7 separate regions of the Homo sapiens genome follow, and regions 1, 2, 3, 4, 5 and 7 are each linked to region 6. The links are contacts of gene promoters, found by promoter capture Hi-C in blood cells and fetal thymus (Javierre and others, 2016). All regions are on one chromosome and are shown on one strand. Each heading gives the region's core, a stretch centred on a gene start or on the middle of the fragment in contact. The rest is flanking DNA. Distances are from core to core; before and after follow the strand shown.

Evidence for each region. Contacts are between HindIII fragments. The CHiCAGO score rates a contact against its expected background, and 5 or more counts as called.
Region 1: a fragment that was not itself captured here is called in contact with the fragment with the promoter of PPP1R13L in region 6 in 1 of 17 cell types (naive CD4 T cells); the score reaches 5.2 in naive CD4 T cells.
Region 2: a contact is called between the fragment with the promoter of PPP1R37 here and the fragment with the promoter of PPP1R13L in region 6, in 4 of 17 cell types (erythroblasts, M1 macrophages, M2 macrophages and 1 more). The highest score is 6.6, in erythroblasts.
Region 3: a fragment that was not itself captured here is called in contact with the fragment with the promoter of PPP1R13L in region 6 in 1 of 17 cell types (activated CD4 T cells); the score reaches 5.4 in activated CD4 T cells.
Region 4: the fragment with the promoter of RELB here is called in contact with the fragment with the promoter of PPP1R13L in region 6 in 1 of 17 cell types (M2 macrophages); the score reaches 5.7 in M2 macrophages.
Region 5: a contact is called between the fragment with the promoter of DMPK here and the fragment with the promoter of PPP1R13L in region 6, in 2 of 17 cell types (total B cells and naive B cells). The highest score is 7.3, in total B cells.
Region 7: the fragment with the promoter of APOC1 here is called in contact with the fragment with the promoter of PPP1R13L in region 6 in 3 of 17 cell types (total B cells, M2 macrophages and total CD8 T cells); the score reaches 5.4 in total B cells.

The regions. Positions count from the first base shown.
Region 1 is chr19:45,038,868-45,041,567 of GRCh38, reverse strand. It overlaps CLASRP (CLK4 associating serine/arginine rich protein), which reads right to left and starts at 2,523. Exons shown (of 21, transcript NM_007056.3): 1 at 2,460-2,523; 2 at 1,257-1,384. The coding sequence starts at 1,355. RefSeq lists an enhancer at 1,980-2,700. The HindIII fragment of the contact is 252 bases long and covers 1,325-1,576 here.
Region 2 is chr19:45,091,854-45,094,614 of GRCh38, reverse strand. PPP1R37 (protein phosphatase 1 regulatory subunit 37) reads right to left here and starts at 1,436. Exons shown (of 13, transcript NM_019121.2): 1 at 1,088-1,436. The coding sequence starts at 1,289. RefSeq lists a silencer at 1,154-1,363 and an enhancer at 1,784-1,833. The HindIII fragment of the contact is 14,988 bases long and covers 1-2,761 here.
Region 3 is chr19:44,952,025-44,954,724 of GRCh38, reverse strand. It overlaps a transcript of CLPTM1 not described here. Among named protein-coding and RNA genes, the nearest start is that of CLPTM1, 2.0 kb to the left of the region's middle. The HindIII fragment of the contact is 825 bases long and covers 838-1,662 here.
Region 4 is chr19:45,000,209-45,002,915 of GRCh38, reverse strand. RELB (RELB proto-oncogene, NF-kB subunit) reads right to left here and starts at 1,452. Exons shown (of 12, transcript NM_006509.4): 1 at 1,231-1,452. The coding sequence starts at 1,336. RefSeq lists silencers at 619-898, 1,219-1,628. The HindIII fragment of the contact is 31,053 bases long and covers 1-2,707 here.
Region 5 is chr19:45,781,162-45,783,917 of GRCh38, reverse strand. It overlaps DMPK (DM1 protein kinase), which reads left to right and starts at 1,428. Exons shown (of 15, transcript NM_004409.5): 1 at 1,428-1,725. The coding sequence starts at 1,566. DMWD (DM1 locus, WD repeat containing) reads left to right here. Exons shown (of 5, transcript NM_004943.2): 5 at 1-971. The HindIII fragment of the contact is 10,590 bases long and covers 1-2,756 here.
Region 6 is chr19:45,403,728-45,406,427 of GRCh38, reverse strand. PPP1R13L (protein phosphatase 1 regulatory subunit 13 like) reads left to right here and starts at 1,359. Exons shown (of 13, transcript NM_006663.4): 1 at 1,359-1,429. RefSeq lists enhancers at 508-707, 678-1,473. The HindIII fragment of the contact is 7,528 bases long and covers 1-2,700 here.
Region 7 is chr19:44,913,281-44,916,014 of GRCh38, reverse strand. APOC1 (apolipoprotein C1) reads right to left here and starts at 1,407. Exons shown (of 4, transcript NM_001645.5): 1 at 1,282-1,407; 2 at 1,066-1,143. The coding sequence starts at 1,123. RefSeq lists enhancers at 336-1,093, 1,094-1,853, 2,612-2,734 and a promoter at 1,268-2,394. The HindIII fragment of the contact is 4,871 bases long and covers 1-2,734 here.

The sequences.
Region 1 (2,700 bases), core at 201-2,700, 360 kb after region 6:
TACAGGAATAACTGGGAAAGGTCTATATAAATGTCATCTGACAGGAACACTGAACCTAGAAAACAGGTGCCATTTCAAGCTGGGATCCCAAGGATACACAGGAGTTAAATAGGTGAGGGGGGGTAATATAGGCCAAAGCCCTGTGGTGGCAGAAATAGAAGGCCAGTGGAGCTGTCCGAGTATGAAGCTGAGTGGTCAGACCACAAGGGTCTTTTAGGCCAGGGATAGTTTGGTCTTCCCCGCAAAAACAACTGAAGCATCAGACAGGAGAGGGAAGTGGTCAGGTTTCACTTAATATTCACTCCTTTTTTTTTGAGACAGTCTTTTTTTTTTTTTTTTTGAGACAGAGTCTCGCTGTCGCCCAGGCTGGAGTGCAATGGTGCTATCTCAGCTCACTGCAGGCTCCGCTCTGCCCCCCTCCCCGGTTCACACCATTCTCCTGCCTCAGCCTCCCGAGTAGCTGGGACTACAGGCACCCGCCACCTCACCTGGCTAATTTTTTGTATTTTAATAGAGATGGGGTTTCACCGTGTTAGCCAGGACGGTCTCGATCTCTTGACCTTGTGATCTGTCCACCTCGGCCTCCCAAAGTGCTGGGATTACAGGCGTTGAGTCTTGCTCTGTCACCCAGGCTGGAGTTCAGTGGCACAATCTCCATGCACTACAGCCTCCTCCTCCCGGGCTCAAGCAATTCTCGTGCGTCAGCCTCCCAAGTAGCTGGGACTACATGCACACACCACTAAGCCTGGCTAATTTTTGTATCTTTAGTAGAGATGGGGTTTCACCCTTTTGGCCAGGCTGGTCTCGAACTCGTGACCTCAGGTGATCCACTTGGGATTACAGGCGTGAGCCACTGTGCCAGGCCAACTTAATACTCACTCCTATTGTGTGCCAAGCCAAATCTCAAGAGTGGCTGAGCTCTTCTGGGAATGGGGAACACAGCAATAAGCGAAACAGACATTCTGGAGGTGGCCAGTCTAACGTCAGGACTGCTCTGAGGGTTACAGAGACTTCCCTTTTTCTTGCTAACACCGGATCGGCACTGGGAGGCCACACCAAACGACACAGTATGCTACAACAAACAGAAGCCCTTGGGATCCCACCAATGATTATCCTCAAGAAAAGATTAATGAATATACTCCTGAGGAAATGAGCCTCTTGTCTTGACATACTTCCAAGCCCAGATTTTACCAGGATGACCAGCTGTGCCCCCCAACCCAGGGTCCCTCACCCCAGACAAAAGGCCAGTTACTCACGATCTTTTCATAATACTCCCGTCTCCGCTCCGCCCTCTTCTTGTAGTCGACCATCATGCCTCGAAGCTTCCGCTCATGCTTCCGAGCCTCGTGCCACATTGTGGTGAGGCCAAGCCTGGGGCCTCAACCTGAGGGATGAAGGGACCAGGAAAGTCAGATGGTCTGTGAAACCCGTATGGGCAGAATCAAAGTCATCTAACAAGTTGGTGGCAGAGTCGATCCCAAACAACACATCTCTTAGCTTCAGGGAGCAGAAGTGAAGCTGCAGAACAGTATGCCAGATGTTCAAGTCCATCCCTAACAACTTCGATCTAGAAGCTTGGGCATTCTGAAAAACCCTCAGGTGATTCTGAGGTGAGCATCACTGGGAAAGGGGTGTCCTAGATTCCACGCGCTGGAGTCGGGAATGAAAGGTTTTGAAACATCAGCAGTGTTTGAAGTAGGGTCAGAAGGCAAACCCTGAGCACTTAAGGCTGGAGCTCAAGAGAAAGAGAAGAACTGAAAAGGCTCCCACTAGGGGCCATGCGTGGGGTTGGGTATGAGTCTGGGTGGTAGAGGGATAAGGAGAATAAGGATGAAGGCAGGTGGAGGAAATCGGAGAAAGCTTTTAAGGGAACAGTGCAGTTGTATGAAGGTGGAGGTCGAGGACAGGTGAAGGGCGTGGCGGAAGATGAAGATGCTAGAGGGAGTGGGAACACGGGGAGGGAGTGTTGCAAGGAGACCAGAGTGAAGCTGAGGTCTAAAGATGGGATCTAGATGGCGGGGTGGGGAGAGCATCCAAAGAAAAAGAGCGTAGAGCCTGAGAGAGGCGGAGCTGGCTGACAGGAGGGCGTGGGCTGAGCTTGGGGGCAGGGCTTGCGGGAAAGGGCGGAGACCGAAGGTTTGGACGGGGCTTGTGGATCGCGTCGCGGCCTGAGGATTTGGGCTGGGTTTTTTTTTTGTTGTTTTTTTTTTTGACAAGGGGGCGGGGCCTGTGATAAGCTGCTGGGCCGAAGGCCGAGTTCGACGCGGCAACTTCTGGCCCACAGCCGGGGCACGGGCTCGGCCTGAGGCCCGTCAGGCCTAATGGGGTGAGGGACGAGCGATCCTCGGGGCCGGGACGCAGCAGAAGCCCACAGCAGCATGGGGAGAGCCTGAGGAAAGGGAGAAGCTGGGCTGAGGCCTGCCCGAAAACCGGGAGGTCGAGCCGCAGCCTGCACTCACCGGCTGGTCGCCGCCTCCCACCGCTGCGCTCGCGCGCGGCCCGCACCGGAAGCGGAAATGAAAGGCCGCGCTAGGGGGAGGGGGCGGAGCATGGTGGAGGGCCGCGCAGCGCACTTCCGCCGACGAGAGAGGCGGGTCCTAGAGTCGAGAGGGGCGGGATCCCGAGGAAGAAGTGGGAGAGCGGAGAAGGGAAGAGCTTGGATGCTTTATCTTTTTATCTTTTTTATTTTATTTATTTATT
Region 2 (2,761 bases), core at 187-2,686, 310 kb after region 6:
GATGGGATTACAGGTGTGCACCACTATGCCCGGCCAATTTCTGTATTTTTAGTAGAGACGGGGTTTCCCCATGTTGGCCAGGCTGGTTTTAAACTCCTGACCTCAGGTGATCCACCCACCTTGGCCTCCCAAAGTGCTGGGATTACACGCCTGAGCCAATGCACCCGGCCATCCCCCAATTCTTTCTCAGGAAGGAACAAGAGGACCCTTCCGTAGCCATGTCCCAAACATCCTCTGCTCCTGAATGACTGACAGCCTTCCTTCTGCTTCTCTTTTTTTTGGAGGAGGAGGCGGCGGTAGGCGTTGGCTTTTCTTCTTAATACCACATTGCAGCAGGCGGCGGTGGCTCACACCTGTAATCCCAACACTCTGGGAGGCCAAGGAGGGAGGACAGCTTGAACCCAGAAGTCCGAGACCAGCCTGGGCAATGTAGTGAGACCTTGTCTCAATAAAAAAGAAAACATAAAAACCACACTGCCTCTTTCTCCCTCACCCAACCACAAATTGACCACCACCTCTGCTCCTCTTCTGGGACCTTATCTTGACTCCTTTTTACCAAGTCCTCTATAGCCACAGTCCAAGTTTATAGTCTCCCTCTTTCCAGCCAAGAAAGTGGCCAACACGACCACTCCTTGCCCCAAGGCTTGCAGACCAGCAACTTAACCTCTTTTTACCCCCATAGACCCATCAAACTCTTTCAACTGCCCTTTCAGGCCCAGTGTTGACCCGCTCCTCCTCTCAACTGCTCCTTCTCTCCTTCTCTGGTGGAACTACGAACGCAAAGGCTGCCACACTCTACATCTGACAAAACACCAAACTTTCTTTAATTGCTCATCGTTTTAAACCCTAAAACGATCACCATCTTTGTCTCGGGTGGGTGGGGTGCGGCAGAAACCAGATACTTTTCACCTTCCCAACTCCATAGCCACCCCCTTTCTAACAGACTACGGTTCTAAACTGACGACTGTCCCCTTATTCACCATTAGGTGCAATCTATTGAACGCCACCTCGAGCCGGGCCCTGCACCGATCCCTCCCGACTCCCGGGTCCCTCTCGAGCCCGCCCCCGCTTCACCCGCGGTAGCTACCATGTCTCCAGGGGTCTTTGGGCTCCACTGCTCCAGACACGATATCCTCGTCGGACGGGAATGTGACGCGCTTGGCTGCAGCCTTGAGGCGCCCATCGGCGGGGGGCGACGCGGGGCTGGGAGACCCGGCCTCAGCTGGGGCCTCTTCAATGTCGCCGTCCGCGCCCGGCACGGGCGGCGCCTCCTGCGGCGCGATCTCCATAGCCGCCGCCGCCTCCTCACGGGGGCCCCGGGGACATGCCCCGGGCCCCGGATTTGTCTCTCCGGGTCCGCCCGCCGTCCCGGGGCATGGGCTCCGCCGCCGCTTCAGGCGCCGCCTCCGTCCGCTCTCCTAGTGGTCGTAGTCGTCGCCGCCGGGAGCCCAAGCGCGCCTCCGCCGAGCCCCGCGCGCGCCTGCCCGTTCGCAGTCACACTTTCGCTCGAGGCTGGCGAGCCCGCCGCTTACTATAAGAAGCAGAAAATCGATTTCAGCGACTTGCACGTAGAGTTGTCCCGCGGGTGACATGAAGAGAGAAACAAAGGGCAGGAAGGGCCACGGAAAAAAGAAACGTGAGCAGCGAATCTGCAGAGCCGGAACTGCAGACTATGAGGGGCGGGGCGAAGTAGACGCCGTCTCCAAGAGCAGCGCGCAAGCGCGAAGCTGAGCCCACGCCTTCCTGCCGGAGTCCAAATAACGAATATTCAGCTCCCGCACATTCGTCAAGAGCCCAGGGAATGGAGTGCATAGAACTGAAAACACCTGGCGGGGCGCGGCGGCACACGCCTATAATCCCAGCACTTTGGAAGGCTGAGGCGGGAAGATCGCTTGAGTCCAGGAGTTCGAGACCAGCCTGGGCAACATAGCAAGGCCCCGTCTTTACAAAAAATTTAAAAATTAGCAGGGTCTGGTTACAGGAGCCTGTAGTTCCAGCTACTTGGGAGGTGGGAAGATCGCTTGAGCCCGGTAGGTTGAGGCTGCACTGAGCTATGATCGCGCCCCTGCACTCCGACCTGGTAGACAGAGCCAGACCCTGTCTCAACGAAAGGAAAGAAATGGGCCGGGCGCGGTGGCTCACGCCTGTAATCCCAGCACTTTGGAAGGCCGACACGGGCGGATCACGAGGTTAGGAGATCGAGACCATCCTGGCTAACACGGTGAAACCCCGTCTCTACTAAAAATACAAAAAATTAGCCGGGCGTGGTGGCGGGCGCCTGTAGTCCCAGCTACTCGGGAGCCTGAGGCACGAGAATGGTGTGAACCCGGGAGGCGGAGCTTTTAGTGAGCCGAGATCGTGCCACTGCACTCCAGCCTGGGCGACAGAGCAAGACTCCGTTCCCCCCCCCCCAAAAAAAACAAAGGAAATAAATGAAAACATTGAGGCTAGACTAACTGATGAAGAGTGGTAACGGCATGAAGAAGTCGAAAAGAAAGGCGGATAGGAGCTGCATTCAATATATGAGTGCAGTTGATGGATGCTGACAGGGATACTCTGGAGACGAAGTCTCGGCCCCTTCGCTAGTCTCTAGTCCTCCATTTGCTCGCTGCAGTTACATCAACAGCTCTCTGTATCGGGGTAGAGTTGCATAAAATACAACTTAAATTACAATGCTAAAATAAATATGAGCCCATGAGCGGTATCATAGGCCTGATTTTAAAAAACAAAACCTAGGAGAAGGTAGAAATTCCAAAGGCGA
Region 3 (2,700 bases), core at 1-2,500, 450 kb after region 6:
CGCGTTCCCTCAGTGGTCCAAACCTCGCATCCGTGGGCTAGGCTTCACGGGCTCTGAGAATTCCACAATTTTTCATTAGCTGTGTGTCTTCGTACAGCTCTAAACCCGGCCATCTGCTGAGAGACCCTTAGTTTGGAGAGGGTGTTACGGAGGCCCAGAGAGGACAAGACTCTCAGAGGCTGTTAACTGTTCACCCGTGAAATTGGGTGGATGTCTGGCCAGGGTTCTAACCCTTGTGGTGCTACTGACTGGATAAGATATCCTGGACAAGTGACGTCTCTCTCTCTCTTTTTTTTTCTTTTTTAGACGGAGCCTCACTCTCCCCCAGGCTGGAGTGCAATGGCGCGATCTCGGCTCACTGCAACCTCGGCTCACTGCATCCTCGGCCTCCCGAGTAGCTGGGATTACAGGAGCACGCCACCACTCCTGGCTAATTTTTTTTTTTTTTTTGAGACGGAGTCTCGCTCTGTCACCCAGGCTGGAGTGCAGTGGCGCGATCTCGGCTCACTGCAACCTCTGCCTCCCGGATTCAAGCAATTCTCCTGCGTCAGCCTCCCATTTTTTTTTTTTTTTTGTAAGTAGAGACGGAGTTTCACCGTGTTGGCCAGGCTGGTGACAAGTGACATCTATGTTTGAGCCTCAGTTTCTCCCCTTTTATAAACCAGGGATATAATCGTACTCGTTCTTCGTCTTCCCGTTTTGCCCCGCTGTGTTATTGGGAAGACGTAGTTAGATGGCGAATGGAAAACATCAGGCCCTGGGCCTCATGCTTAAGTGGTCAATATTTGGAGCGCTGTGATTATGAACCTTATATATTACCTGGAAAAAGAGTAAGCTTTGCATTGGGATATTCTGAATATATAATTATCATTTTATTATCGGTTTCCTCCACTTTCCTCTAGGTCTCAGCCCTGTAACAGTAGCTCTCGCTCTAGGAAACTCTCTCTGAGCCCTTTTCCTATCCTCCCTTGCCCCCTCAGCTCCTCCACCCCATCCCTGCTCACTTTGTGTCATCACTGTCAGGGATGGGTGTGTCTCCCCAACTGGGCAGGCTGACCTGGGACTGTTGTGGTCACTGCTGTATCTCCAGCACTGCCCTGGGGATGATTGCCCTGGGGATGAGGCTCTCTAGGTGCAGAAGGTGAGTGACTTACCTCTCTGAGGGCTAACACAGGACAAGAAGGAACCTTAGAAAACTTCGCTCCTCAGCCAGGCGCGGTGGCTCACGCCTGTAATCCCAGCACTTTGGGAGGCCGAGGCAGGCGGATCACCTGAGGTCGGGAGTTCAAGACCAGCCTGGCCAACATTGTGAAACCCCGTCTCTACTAAAAATACAAAAATTAGCCGGGCATGGTGGCGGACGTCTGTAACTCCAGCTACTCGGGAGGCTGAGGCAGGAGAATTGCTTGAACCCGGGAGGCAGAGGTTGCAGTGAGCCAAGATCATGCCACTGAATTCCGGCCTGGGCAACAGAGCAAGACTCCACCTCCAAAAAAGAAGAAAGAAAAGAAAAAGAAAACTCAGTGCCTCATCCTCACTGTTACAGACAATAATGGTGTTAATAACGATTCTTTGAATGTGTAGGCCCAGTCTTTTAAGTCCAGGGATGAAGTGAATAGACTAAGACAGGGATTGAGGAGAGACTTTGTGGGGTCTGAAGCTTATGTGTTTTGTGGGCCTCTTTTTTTTTTTTTTTTTGAGATGGAGTCTTGCTCTGTCACCCAGGCTGGAGTGCAGTGGCATGATCTCAGCTCAATGCAAGCTCCGCCTCCTGGGTTCACACCATTCTCCTGTCTCAGCCTCCGGAGTAGCTGGGACTACAGGCGCCCACCACCACGCCCAGCTAATTTTTTGTATTTTTAGTAGAGACGGGGTTTCACCGTGTTAGCCAGGATGGTCTTGATCTCCTGACCTCGTGATCCGCCTGCCTCTGTCTCCCAAAGTGCTGGGAGTACAGGCATGAGCCACCGCGCCTGGCCTGGCCTCTTTTAAAAAGTACAAAATTGGCTGGGTGTGGTGGCTCACACTGTAATCCCAGCACTTTGGGAGGCAGAGGCTGGTGGATCACCTGAGGTCGGGAGTTCGAGACCAGCCTGACCAAAATGGAGAAACCCCATCTCTACTAAAAGTACAAAATTAGCTGGGCATGGTGGTACATGCCTGTAATCCCAGCTACTTGGGAGGCCAAGGCAGGAGAATCGCTTGAACCTGGGAAGCGGAGGTTGTGGTGAGCCGAGATCATGCCATCGCACTCCAGCCTGGGCAAGAAAAGGGAGACTCTGTCTTGAAAAAAAAAAAGTACAAAATGACTTGTACAAATTTAGGTAGAGGACCATGGAAAGCCCAGGCAAGTGAGGGGCTTTGAAACTTTCTCCAGCCTCACTGCAACCCCAACTGCGCTCTCAGCTATAAATACAAACTGCTGCAATCTGCTCTCCAAGTCTCATACACTGCAAGGGCCAATGTGTTGGAGCATGATGAGGTCTAAGCTTCTCATGAGAAGTGTGACCTTGGACAGGGCTCCTGTGGAGGCAGGTTCCCTGCAGAGCCTTCCTATGCTCTGTGGAGTGACCAAATAAATTCTGCCATTCCGTCCAGGCTTCGTGGCTCATGCCTGTAATCCTAGCACTCTGGGAGGCTGAGGCAGAAGGATCGCTTGAGCCTAGGAGTTTAAGACCAGCCTTGGTGACATAGCGAGAT
Region 4 (2,707 bases), core at 203-2,702, 400 kb after region 6:
GGGGGGCAGCCAGAGGACCAGAGAATATCCCAAGGAAGCCCCACCCCTTCCTCTTCTAGCCCTTCCCCTCTGGATCAGGCCCCTCGCCCTGACTGCCCCCCTGCGTCTGGCCAGGCTTACCAGCTAAATCATGGACAGGTCCTGGCCTTTAGTTTCTGTGGTTCGCCCCACCCTTCATCACACTCAGGGCCCGCTCCTTTTCTCCCTTAAAGTTGGGCCTGGAGGGGACCCCATCTCAATCTCAGTTTAAAAAGTCCCCATCCCGCTGGGCACAAGGGCTCACACCTGTAATCCCAGCACTTTGAGAGGCCGAGGCGTGCGGATCACCTGAGGTCAGAAGTTCGAGGCCAGTCTGACCAGCATGGTGAAACCCCGTCTCTAGTAAAACTACAAAAATTAGCCGGGTGTGGTGGCGGGCACCTGTAATTCCAGCTACTCGGGGGGCTGAGGCAGGAGAACTGCTTGAGCCCGGGAGGCAGAGGTTGCAGTGAGCCTAGATCGTGCCACTGCACTCCAGCCTGGGCGACAGAGCGAGACTCCATCTCAAAAGAAAAAAACAAAAAACAAACAAAAAAAAACATCCTCCTGTCAGGGTCAGACCACTTTTAATTTTTTCAATGTCAAGGCTCCGCTTCTCCGTCTGGAGGCAAGCCCCACCCCCTCCTCATTCTCTGTGTCGGGCCCCGCCCTGCTTTTTTGGGTAACAGGCCCTTCCCCTCCACTCGGCCAGAGTCAGGCCCCGCCCCTTCCCCTTCTTTCGGCCAACTCAGGCCCCGCCCCCTTCCTGCCCTCACGGCCAGGCCCCGCCCCCTCACCCCTCAGCGTAGGGCCCTGCTTCCTTTTTTGAGTCAGGCCCGGCCCTCTTCTCATAGTCCGGGTCGGATCCCGCCCCTCTTCTCCCTCTCTGGGCCCGGCCCCGCCCCGATACCGCCCAAGAGCAGCTTTCGCTCCGCCTTCTCTGAGTCAGGCCACGCCCCCTTCTTTGCCTCAGGGTCAGGCCCCGCCCCCTCTCACTCTACAGCGGGACGCCTCGCTCGAACCTCGGGCCGTACCCCCTCATCACCCTCTGCCTTCTTCCTACGCCCTAATACAGTGTCTCAGGAACCCTCACTCTGCCCCCGCGAAACCCTTAGACTCCCATAGGAACCCCCAGACTACTCCGGGACCGCCAGAATCCCCGCATCTCCAGCCCCGCCCCAGACCCCTCTCCTGAACCCCAGCCCCGCTTACCTAAGGCCCCCAGCTCCGGCGCAGCCGGCGGTCTGGCGACGCGGCGACTCGGCATGGCCCGGCCAGTGGGGACGGACGGCCCAGAGGCTGGCCCAGACCGAAGCATGCACGCGGGCCGGCCGGGCGGCCGGGAGGCACGGTCTGGTGGACGATCGCGGGTCGGACGAGCGGCGCAAGGGCTGGGGCCGCAGGCCGGGCAGGACGCGCGGCGCCCGGGGCTGCGCGGGGCGCGGGGCCGGGCCGGGCGGGCGGCGGGCGGGGGCGGGGCGGCGGAATTCCCCGGCGCCGCCGGCCTGCGCGCCCATTGGTCTGCACCCCGCCGTGACGTCACGCCTGGGGAACGGGAAAACCCCCACGCGTCACGTGATCGCGGGGGCGGGGCCGGCCGGGAAAGGGAGGCTGGGCGCTCAGGAGGGGTTGGGCAGGCGTCGCTGCCCATTGCTCTGGACGAGACAACTGAGGCCTGCTTAGAGCCATCACGCCTTACCCATTGAGCAAGCCGGCAAACTGAGCCGCTCCCCGCTTTGGTCTCCCAGTGGGACTTGAACCTGCCGTTTCTCAGGCTGGAAGGGGAGCTTCAGGATCGAGAGGTTGGCAGGGCTCTACACCTGCCATCCATAATAATATTTCGGAAACCTCCAAGGTCTCGCTACACCTCAGTTTCCTCAACCGTAAATTGAGGATGAAGATATTTAAGGAACGTTTAAAGCTAGCGTGTCAGCTTCAGAATTTATGTTTTGTGCGTTGTTGTAACCCCAACGCCTAGACCAGCGCCTGGAACACCGTAGGTGCCCAATAAATGTTTATTGGAGGCCGGGCGCGGTGGTTCATGCCTGTAATCTCAGCACTTTGGGAGGCCGAGGCAGGCACATCACGAGGTCAGGATTTCGAGACCAGCCTGACCGACATGGTGAAATCCCATCTCTACTAAAAATACAAAAATTAGCTGGGCGTGTTGGTGTGCGCCTGTAATGCCAGCTACTCCGGAGGCTGAGGCAGGAGAATAGCTTGAACCTGGGAGGCGGAGGTTGCAGTGAGCTGAGATCGTGCCACTGCACTCCAGCCTGGGCAACAGAGCGAGACTCCCATCTCAAAAAAAAAAAAGTTTATTGGATGAATGCATGGATGTTTTATTTATTGGTTTGTTCCTCCCTGCAGCCCCTGAAAGTTACCCATAAATAGCCCAGACCACTTTGAGCTCAAAAGCTCAGTTATTCAGTCTGCGAATGGCAGCAGTGTAGCCTCCGTATACATCCTGAGCTGTGTGCCTAAACCCTGAGCTCATCCCTATCACCAGCGCCAGAAGCATATGATAGGATTATTGCAGAAGGGACTCAGGCTGAAAGAGGGGCAGCCATTTGGCTAGATCACATTCCTAAGCCTCTCATATTCCTGAGAACGACTAGGTGATCTATTAGGTTCTAAGTTGGATGCCAGGCGCTCTCAGACCACAGATGCAGGGTTTGTTGTCTTTCCT
Region 5 (2,756 bases), core at 179-2,678, 380 kb before region 6:
CCCAGGTCTGCAGTGTGCCCCTCAGTTGAGTGGGCAGGGCCGGGGGTGGTCCAGCCCTCGCCCGGCCCCCACCCCAGCTGCCCTTGCTATTGTCTGTGCTTTTGAAGAGTGTTAAATTATGGAAGCCCCTCAGGTTCCTCCCTGTCCCGCAGGACCTCTTATTTATACTAAAGTTCCCTGTTTTCTCAGCGGGTCTGTCCCCTTCGGAGGAGATGATGTAGAGGACCTGTGTGTGTACTCTGTGGTTCTAGGCAGTCCGCTTTCCCCAGAGGAGGAGTGCAGGCCTGCTCCCAGCCCAGCGCCTCCCACCCCTTTTCATAGCAGGAAAAGCCGGAGCCCAGGGAGGGAACGGACCTGCGAGTCACACAACTGGTGACCCACACCAGCGGCTGGAGCAGGACCCTCTTGGGGAGAAGAGCATCCTGCCCGCAGCCAGGGCCCCTCATCAAAGTCCTCGGTGTTTTTTAAATTATCAGAACTGCCCAGGACCACGTTTCCCAGGCCCTGCCCAGCTGGGACTCCTCGGTCCTTGCCTCCTAGTTTCTCAGGCCTGGCCCTCTCAAGGCCCAGGCACCCCAGGCCGGTTGGAGGCCCCGACTTCCACTCTGGAGAACCGTCCACCCTGGAAAGAAGAGCTCAGATTCCTCTTGGCTCTCGGAGCCGCAGGGAGTGTGTCTTCCCGCGCCACCCTCCACCCCCCGAAATGTTTCTGTTTCTAATCCCAGCCTGGGCAGGAATGTGGCTCCCCGGCCAGGGGCCAAGGAGCTATTTTGGGGTCTCGTTTGCCCAGGGAGGGCTTGGCTCCACCACTTTCCTCCCCCAGCCTTTGGGCAGCAGGTCACCCCTGTTCAGGCTCTGAGGGTGCCCCCTCCTGGTCCTGTCCTCACCACCCCTTCCCCACCTCCTGGGAAAAAAAAAAAAAAAAAAAAAAAAAGCTGGTATAAAGCAGAGAGCCTGAGGGCTAAATTTAACTGTCCGAGTCGGAATCCATCTCTGAGTCACCCAAGAAGCTGCCCTGGCCTCCCGTCCCCTTCCCAGGCCTCAACCCCTTTCTCCCACCCAGCCCCAACCCCCAGCCCTCACCCCCTAGCCCCCAGTTCTGGAGCTTGTCGGGAGCAAGGGGGTGGTTGCTACTGGGTCACTCAGCCTCAATTGGCCCTGTTTCAGCAATGGGCAGGTTCTTCTTGAAATTCATCACACCTGTGGCTTCCTCTGTGCTCTACCTTTTTATTGGGGTGACAGTGTGACAGCTGAGATTCTCCATGCATTCCCCCTACTCTAGCACTGAAGGGTTCTGAAGGGCCCTGGAAGGAGGGAGCTTGGGGGGCTGGCTTGTGAGGGGTTAAGGCTGGGAGGCGGGAGGGGGGCTGGACCAAGGGGTGGGGAGAAGGGGAGGAGGCCTCGGCCGGCCGCAGAGAGAAGTGGCCAGAGAGGCCCAGGGGACAGCCAGGGACAGGCAGACATGCAGCCAGGGCTCCAGGGCCTGGACAGGGGCTGCCAGGCCCTGTGACAGGAGGACCCCGAGCCCCCGGCCCGGGGAGGGGCCATGGTGCTGCCTGTCCAACATGTCAGCCGAGGTGCGGCTGAGGCGGCTCCAGCAGCTGGTGTTGGACCCGGGCTTCCTGGGGCTGGAGCCCCTGCTCGACCTTCTCCTGGGCGTCCACCAGGAGCTGGGCGCCTCCGAACTGGCCCAGGACAAGTACGTGGCCGACTTCTTGCAGTGGGGTGAGTGCCTACCCTCGGGGCTCCTGCAGATGGGGTGGGGGTGGGGCAGGAGACAGGTCTGGGCACAGAGGCCTGGCTGTTGGGGGGGCAGGATGGCAGGATGGGCATGGGGAGATCCTCCCATCCTGGGGCTCAGAGTGTGGACCTGGGCCCTGGGGCAACATTTCTCTGTCCTATGCCACCACTCTGGAGGGGCAGAGTAAGGTCAGCAGAGGCTAGGGTGGCTGTGACTCAGAGCCATGGCTTAGGAGTCACAGCAGGCTAGGCTGCCAACAGCCTCCCATGGCCTCTCTGCACCCCGCCTCAGGGTCAGGGTCAGGGTCATGCTGGGAGCTCCCTCTCCTAGGACCCTCCCCCCAAAAGTGGGCTCTATGGCCCTCTCCCCTGGTTTCCTGTGGCCTGGGGCAAGCCAGGAGGGCCAGCATGGGGCAGCTGCCAGGGGCGCAGCCGACAGGCAGGTGTTCGGCGCCAGCCTCTCCAGCTGCCCCAACAGGTGCCCAGGCACTGGGAGGGCGGTGACTCACGCGGGCCCTGTGGGAGAACCAGCTTTGCAGACAGGCGCCACCAGTGCCCCCTCCTCTGCGATCCAGGAGGGACAACTTTGGGTTCTTCTGGGTGTGTCTCCTTCTTTTGTAGGTTCTGCACCCACCCCCACCCCCAGCCCCAAAGTCTCGGTTCCTATGAGCCGTGTGGGTCAGCCACCATTCCCGCCACCCCGGGTCCCTGCGTCCTTTAGTTCTCCTGGCCCAGGGCCTCCAACCTTCCAGCTGTCCCACAAAACCCCTTCTTGCAAGGGCTTTCCAGGGCCTGGGGCCAGGGCTGGAAGGAGGATGCTTCCGCTTCTGCCAGCTGCCTTGTCTGCCCACCTCCTCCCCAAGCCCAGGACTCGGGCTCACTGGTCACTGGTTTCTTTCATTCCCAGCACCCTGCCCCTCTGGCCCTCATATGTCTGGCCCTCAGTGACTGGTGTTTGGTTTTTGGCCTGTGTGTAACAAACTGTGTGTGACACTTGTTTCCTGTTTCTCCGCCTT
Region 6 (2,700 bases), core at 110-2,609:
GGGTCCCGATGGGTCGCCCCCATCGTCTGTCCAATATGGTTTGTTGCAACGCCTCCTTAAAGGGGCAGCCACACTGCTCTTCCTAAGCCTTAAAGAGACAGGACGGTCGATTGGTCTGAAATTCTTGAAGAGACAGGTAAGAATACTAGTTAGTAGGGCTGTGCTTTCTGTGTTAAATGTCTTCTGGGGAGGCCCAGATGCCTCACAAGTTCAGAACTTGACTGGGAGAAGCGGGAAAATGGAGAAATAGGGGCAATCCGTCCGGAGGGCGTGAAGTTCCAGCCAGGGGCGGGGCTTCTGGACTCCGGGGGAGCGGGAAACATAGGGGGAGGAGCTTGTGGTTCTCGAGGGCGGAGCCTCGGACCCAGGAGCCCCACACGCGTGGAGTGGTGCTGGGCACGGTGTAGCGTTTGTGGATCAAATGGGACTTGTAGATGCCCTCGGGGGTTTAGTCTCATGCGTGGGAAACCTCGATGACTTTCAGGAAGGGACCTGATCGGCGACTCCTCCCTGCCCCAGGGAGCGTGTAAACAGCGGCACGTGGACACAGATTTGGGGGACGCACCCACTTCCCTTCCCACTGGGGCCGCCCCGCGTTGGGCGGCGGTTGGAGCCGCGAGACGGTGGCTAGACAGGGTGACCCGACTGCATTCCTGGCCAGTGTGTCAGCGCCACTTCCCGCCCCCTCTGCCAAGATTTAGGATCCTACTCCAGAATTGGGGCACCCCTTCTCCCCAGGTGGGAGAGGCTTTCCAGAGCGGAGGGAGGGTCAAGGGGAAGGGGAAATGTTTCCCCTATCCAGGATCTCCAGACGGTTTCCTTCGCGTGGGCGAGAGAGACACCGGGGTGCAGCCCCTGCGGGCTCCAGGACTACAATTCCCACAGGACCCGAGGCAAAGAGTCGCCCGAGGGCGGTCGCGGAGGCTGCTGGGGGTTGTAGTCCAAACTAAGATTTTGAACTCTTGCTGGGACATCCTTTGAAGATCCAACCCGCGCTTTTTATCGACGGGGAGATTCGGGCTCAGAGACCCTGGGGGATACTGATCAGGAAAGGGGATAGTGCGCCTGAAGGGGTGGGGCAAGGGCTCAGGAGTCAGTCTCCAGCCACAGCGAGGCAGGCGTCTCGGCTCTTCTGTATCTCCCTGGCCTGGTCGCTCTCGGCTTCTGGGCCTCGCCCTTCCTGTCTGTGAAATGGACTCTGGGTGAATCCAAATGGGATCGTCTTGGGCTACGTCCTGTCCCTCCGGGACTACAAGTCCCAAGGTGCTCGAGGCGACCTTGGCTCCCCCTCCCCACCGGGACCCGCCTCCCTCCAGCCCAAGTCACGTCGTCTAACCTGTTCCCAGCTCCTGCCCCGCCCCGTTCTCCGCTCCCCAAGCCGGAGCCCGAGCTGGAGGAAGCCCCCAGGTGCCAGGATCTGCCCGGATCCGTGAGTTTCACCCTCCTGGGGACCAGAGGCCCTGAAAAAGCCCAACACCCGCGTCCCTGGGAGGATTGGGAGGGGACTCGGACGCCAGGTCCCAGGGCGGAATTTGGGGCGCGCCGACACCTGGATCCTTAGAAGGAAACTCCGTTGCCTGTTTTACTGGAGGGAAGGAAAGCGGGTTCGGATGCCTGAATTCTTGGAATGGAGGGATTCTACCCCTTCATCCCGGGGAGACGTTGGAGCTGGAATTCCTGAGTCCCTCGAACTGGGGGGCTCTAGGAAGCCGAGTCTTTGGGTAGTATAGGGGTTCGAATCCCCGAGTCTTGGTCAGAAATGAGAGGCTCAGACTGGTGGGGCTCAAGGTGGAATGGGTGACCACCCTGCCAGCCTCAAGCTGCTGTCTCGACCGATCTTCTAGGTCTCTGAGCAGAATTAAGGGTGGGGCAGGGATAGTGGAGCCTGGGTTCCTGAAGTGGAGCAGGACAGGTACCCGGGGTCCCTCCGGAGGCTGTGTCCCGGCTCTCCCCCGACTTTTCGGCTCGGGGATGGGGGCGGGGTAGGAGAGAAAACACCGAGGCAGATCTCCAACCTCCTCTGTGCCGCTGAGCGAACCCAACATGTCATTAACCTGGGCGTCAGACCTGCCTAACCAGAGAAGGGACATCCGCCCTAGGGCACCCCCTGGCGGAGGTGGGCTCCCCTATTGCCTTATGGGGTGGGAAACAGCTGGGTTTGCAGAGGTAGTTCTAGAACCCAGGGCAGAATTCCGGAAAGCGGCTATTGGATTCTGGGAGGTTTGCATAGCCGGGCATTTAACCATTACACGGAGAGGAAGGGGTAAACTGAGGCTTGGAGCTCACACAGGCAGTAGAGTTTGTAGGGTCAGGATTCTGCCTCCTCCTTCTTCTGCAGCTCTCTGGGGGACGGGATTCCATCCGCCCCCGCCAGATTTTCTGACTAACCTTCTGCCTCAGGGCTCCTTGCCCTGACCCTGAGGTGAGAAATGTCACCTCCACGCCCATCTGTCTGACCTGGGGTATTGTGGGAGATAAGGGAGGGACAGAGGCTAATTCTGGAGGTGTCTGTCTGTCCTTGAGGCGGGGGGAGGGCAGGACCAGGCACCTCCCTCTGTCTATCTCCCCGTTCTCTCCACCCCCATGCGTCCTAAGAAGGGGGATTAAAAACAGAATGGGGGAGGCGAGCATCTGATGAGAGAGGAGTGTTTCCCAATGTCTGGGCTTGAAGGGCATTTGATGATAACCTGAAATGAAATT
Region 7 (2,734 bases), core at 158-2,657, 490 kb after region 6:
CAGGTGTGCACCACCACACCCAGCTATTTTTGTTTTGTTTTGTTTTGAGACGGAGTCTTGCTGTGTCAGCCAGGCTGGAGTGCAGTGGTATGATCTCGGCTCACTGCAACCTCCGCCTCCCGGGTTCAAGTGATTCTCCTGCCTCAGCCTCCCGAGTAGCTGGGCCTACAGGCGCGTGCCTCCACACCTGGCTAATTTTTTTGTATTTTTAGTAGAGACGAAGTTTCACCATGTTGGCCAGGCTGGTTTCGAACTCCTGACCTCAAGTGATCTGCCCGCCTCGGCCTCCCAAAGTGCTGGGATTACAGGCATGAGCCACCCTGCCCGGCCAAAAATTTGTTATTGGAACCCCCTTAGGTTGGGATACCGGGATGGATAGAGATCCTTGGGGATCATGTGGTTAGAATGGGGAGGAATGGCCGGACGCGGTGGCTCACGCCTGTAATCCCAGCACTTTGGGAGGTCGAGGCAGGCGGATCACAAAGTCAGGAGATCGAGACCACGGTGAAACCCTGTCTCTACTGAAAATACAAAAAATTAGCCGGGCGCGGTGGCGGGCGCCTGTAGTCCTGCTGAGGCAGGAGAATGGCGTGAACCAGGGAGGCGGAGCTTGCAGTGAGCCGAGATCGCGCCACTGCACTCCAGCCTCGGCGACAGAGCGAGACTCCGTCTCAAGAGAAAAAAAAAAAAAAAAAAAAAGAATGGGGAGGAATACTGGAGTGACCTGGTGGGGCTCAAGCTGCTGGGAATTGCCTTACTCAGCACTGACCTCTCCCAGAGCCCCCCACCCAGCTTACCCACTTTCAAGGCTGTCGAAGCAGGACAGCCAATCCCAGAGGTGTGGGCCTCAATACGTCATCGGTTGCTAGTGCTCTCCTGCGCAGATTTGGCGCCTGCGGGACTGAGCCTGGGAGAACCTGGAGACCCACCCGACCACGATGAGGCAACCACGACCCAGAAGGGGCCCCGGAGCTCTCAGAGGTCCTCTAAGCCGGGACCCCAGGCCTGTAGCCACCTTCACTCTTCCAAATCTCCAACTCCGCAATTCTCCCATCCCACTTTTACCTTCCAAGACGATCGACAGAACCACCACCAGGACCGGGAGCGACAGGAAGAGCCTCATGGCGAGGCCGGAGGGGCACTCTGGAGGCAGAGGCAGGGGTTCAGGGGATCAGTGGCACCCTCCTCCCTCCCTACCTCCCTCCCACGATCCCCTCATCTCCCTTTTTGAGTTTCTTGCAGAGTGTAGGCGGGTGTCCCTCCCAGGCACTCAGCACCAACCTGAATCCTTGCTGGAGGGCTTGGTTGGGAGGTCCTGTCCTGCCCGCAGGACCTTTATCAGGCTGGGGAGGGGGCGGGGCAGGTTGATGTTGATCTCCCTCCTCCTGAGCCTTCCCCTGACCGCCTGCCTCCCTCTGTCCACCCACGTTTTTCTCCTCTGCCCCTGTCCCGTGAGCGTTGGGGTCAGGTGGGGTCCCGGGCACTTCCCTTAGCCCCAAAGCCCCTCCCCGTTCAGCACTCTCACCTCTCAATCTTCCTGACTCTGTGGGGTCCTCAGACCACCTTAGTCCCTTTCCCCACTCAGAATGTAGCAGGAGGAGCCGCAGACAAAATTCCTCAGACGCTGAGTTAAGGAAGGGGTTTATTCGTTCGGGGAATGGGCAAGATTCCTGTCTCAAGAGCCGAGCTCCCCGAGTGAGCAATCCCTGTTCCTTTTAAGGGCTCACAACTCTAAGTGGGTGCACGTGAGAGGGTCGTGATCGATTGAACAAGCAGGGGATGCGTGACTGGGGGCTGCATGCACCGGTAATTAGATCGGAACAAAACAGAATAGGGATTTTCACAGTGCTTTTCTATACAATGTCTGTAATCTATAGATAACCTAACGGATTAGGTCAGGGGTCAATCTTTAACCACCAGGCCCAGGGTGTGGCGCGGGCTGTCTGCTTGTGGATTTCATTTCTGCCTTTTAGTTTTTACTTTTTCTTTCTTTGGAGGCAGAAATTGGGCATAAGACAATATGAGGGGTGGTCTCCTCCCTTAAGAAGACAGCCTTGTCCTGTCCCTGTGGCCATCTTCCCTCAGGGGTCTCCCAGTAATAACCCTGTGATCTCATCCCCCCCTCATTCACACCGTGTCCCTAGATCACCTCTTTCCCTCACTTCCCCTCTCTCAGCAAGCCTCCTCAGCCCCAACAACTTTTCCTTTATGTTGCTGGGTCTCCCAGTTGGCCCGGCGCTCCTACCCTGCGTGCCACCTCCAATTTATTCCAGACCAGCCCTTGAAGCACCCCAGACCACCGTGATATTCTCTGGGCTCTTAACTTCATGGTTCTCAGTCTCCCTTTTTTGGGAGGGGAACGGGTCGCCTTAGCTGGATGACACTGCAAAAACCTCACCTGCATTAGCCAGGCATGGTGGCTCATGCCTGTAATCCCAGCACTTTGGGAAGCTGAAGAGGGAGGATCACTTGAGCCTGGGAGTTCGAGACCAGCCTGGGCAATATAGGGAGACCTCATCTCTACAAAAAAGTTCAAAAATTAGCCGAGCGTGGTGGCGCATGCCTGTAGTCCCAGCTACTCAAGAGGCTGAGGTAGGAAGATTGCTTGAGCCCAGGAGTTCGAGGCTGCAGTGAGCTGTGATTGTGCCACTGCACTCCAGCCTGGTGGGACAGAGACCCCATCTCAAAAAATTAAAACCCTCAGCTGCAAAGCTCTGCGTGTATGTCCCTTCTT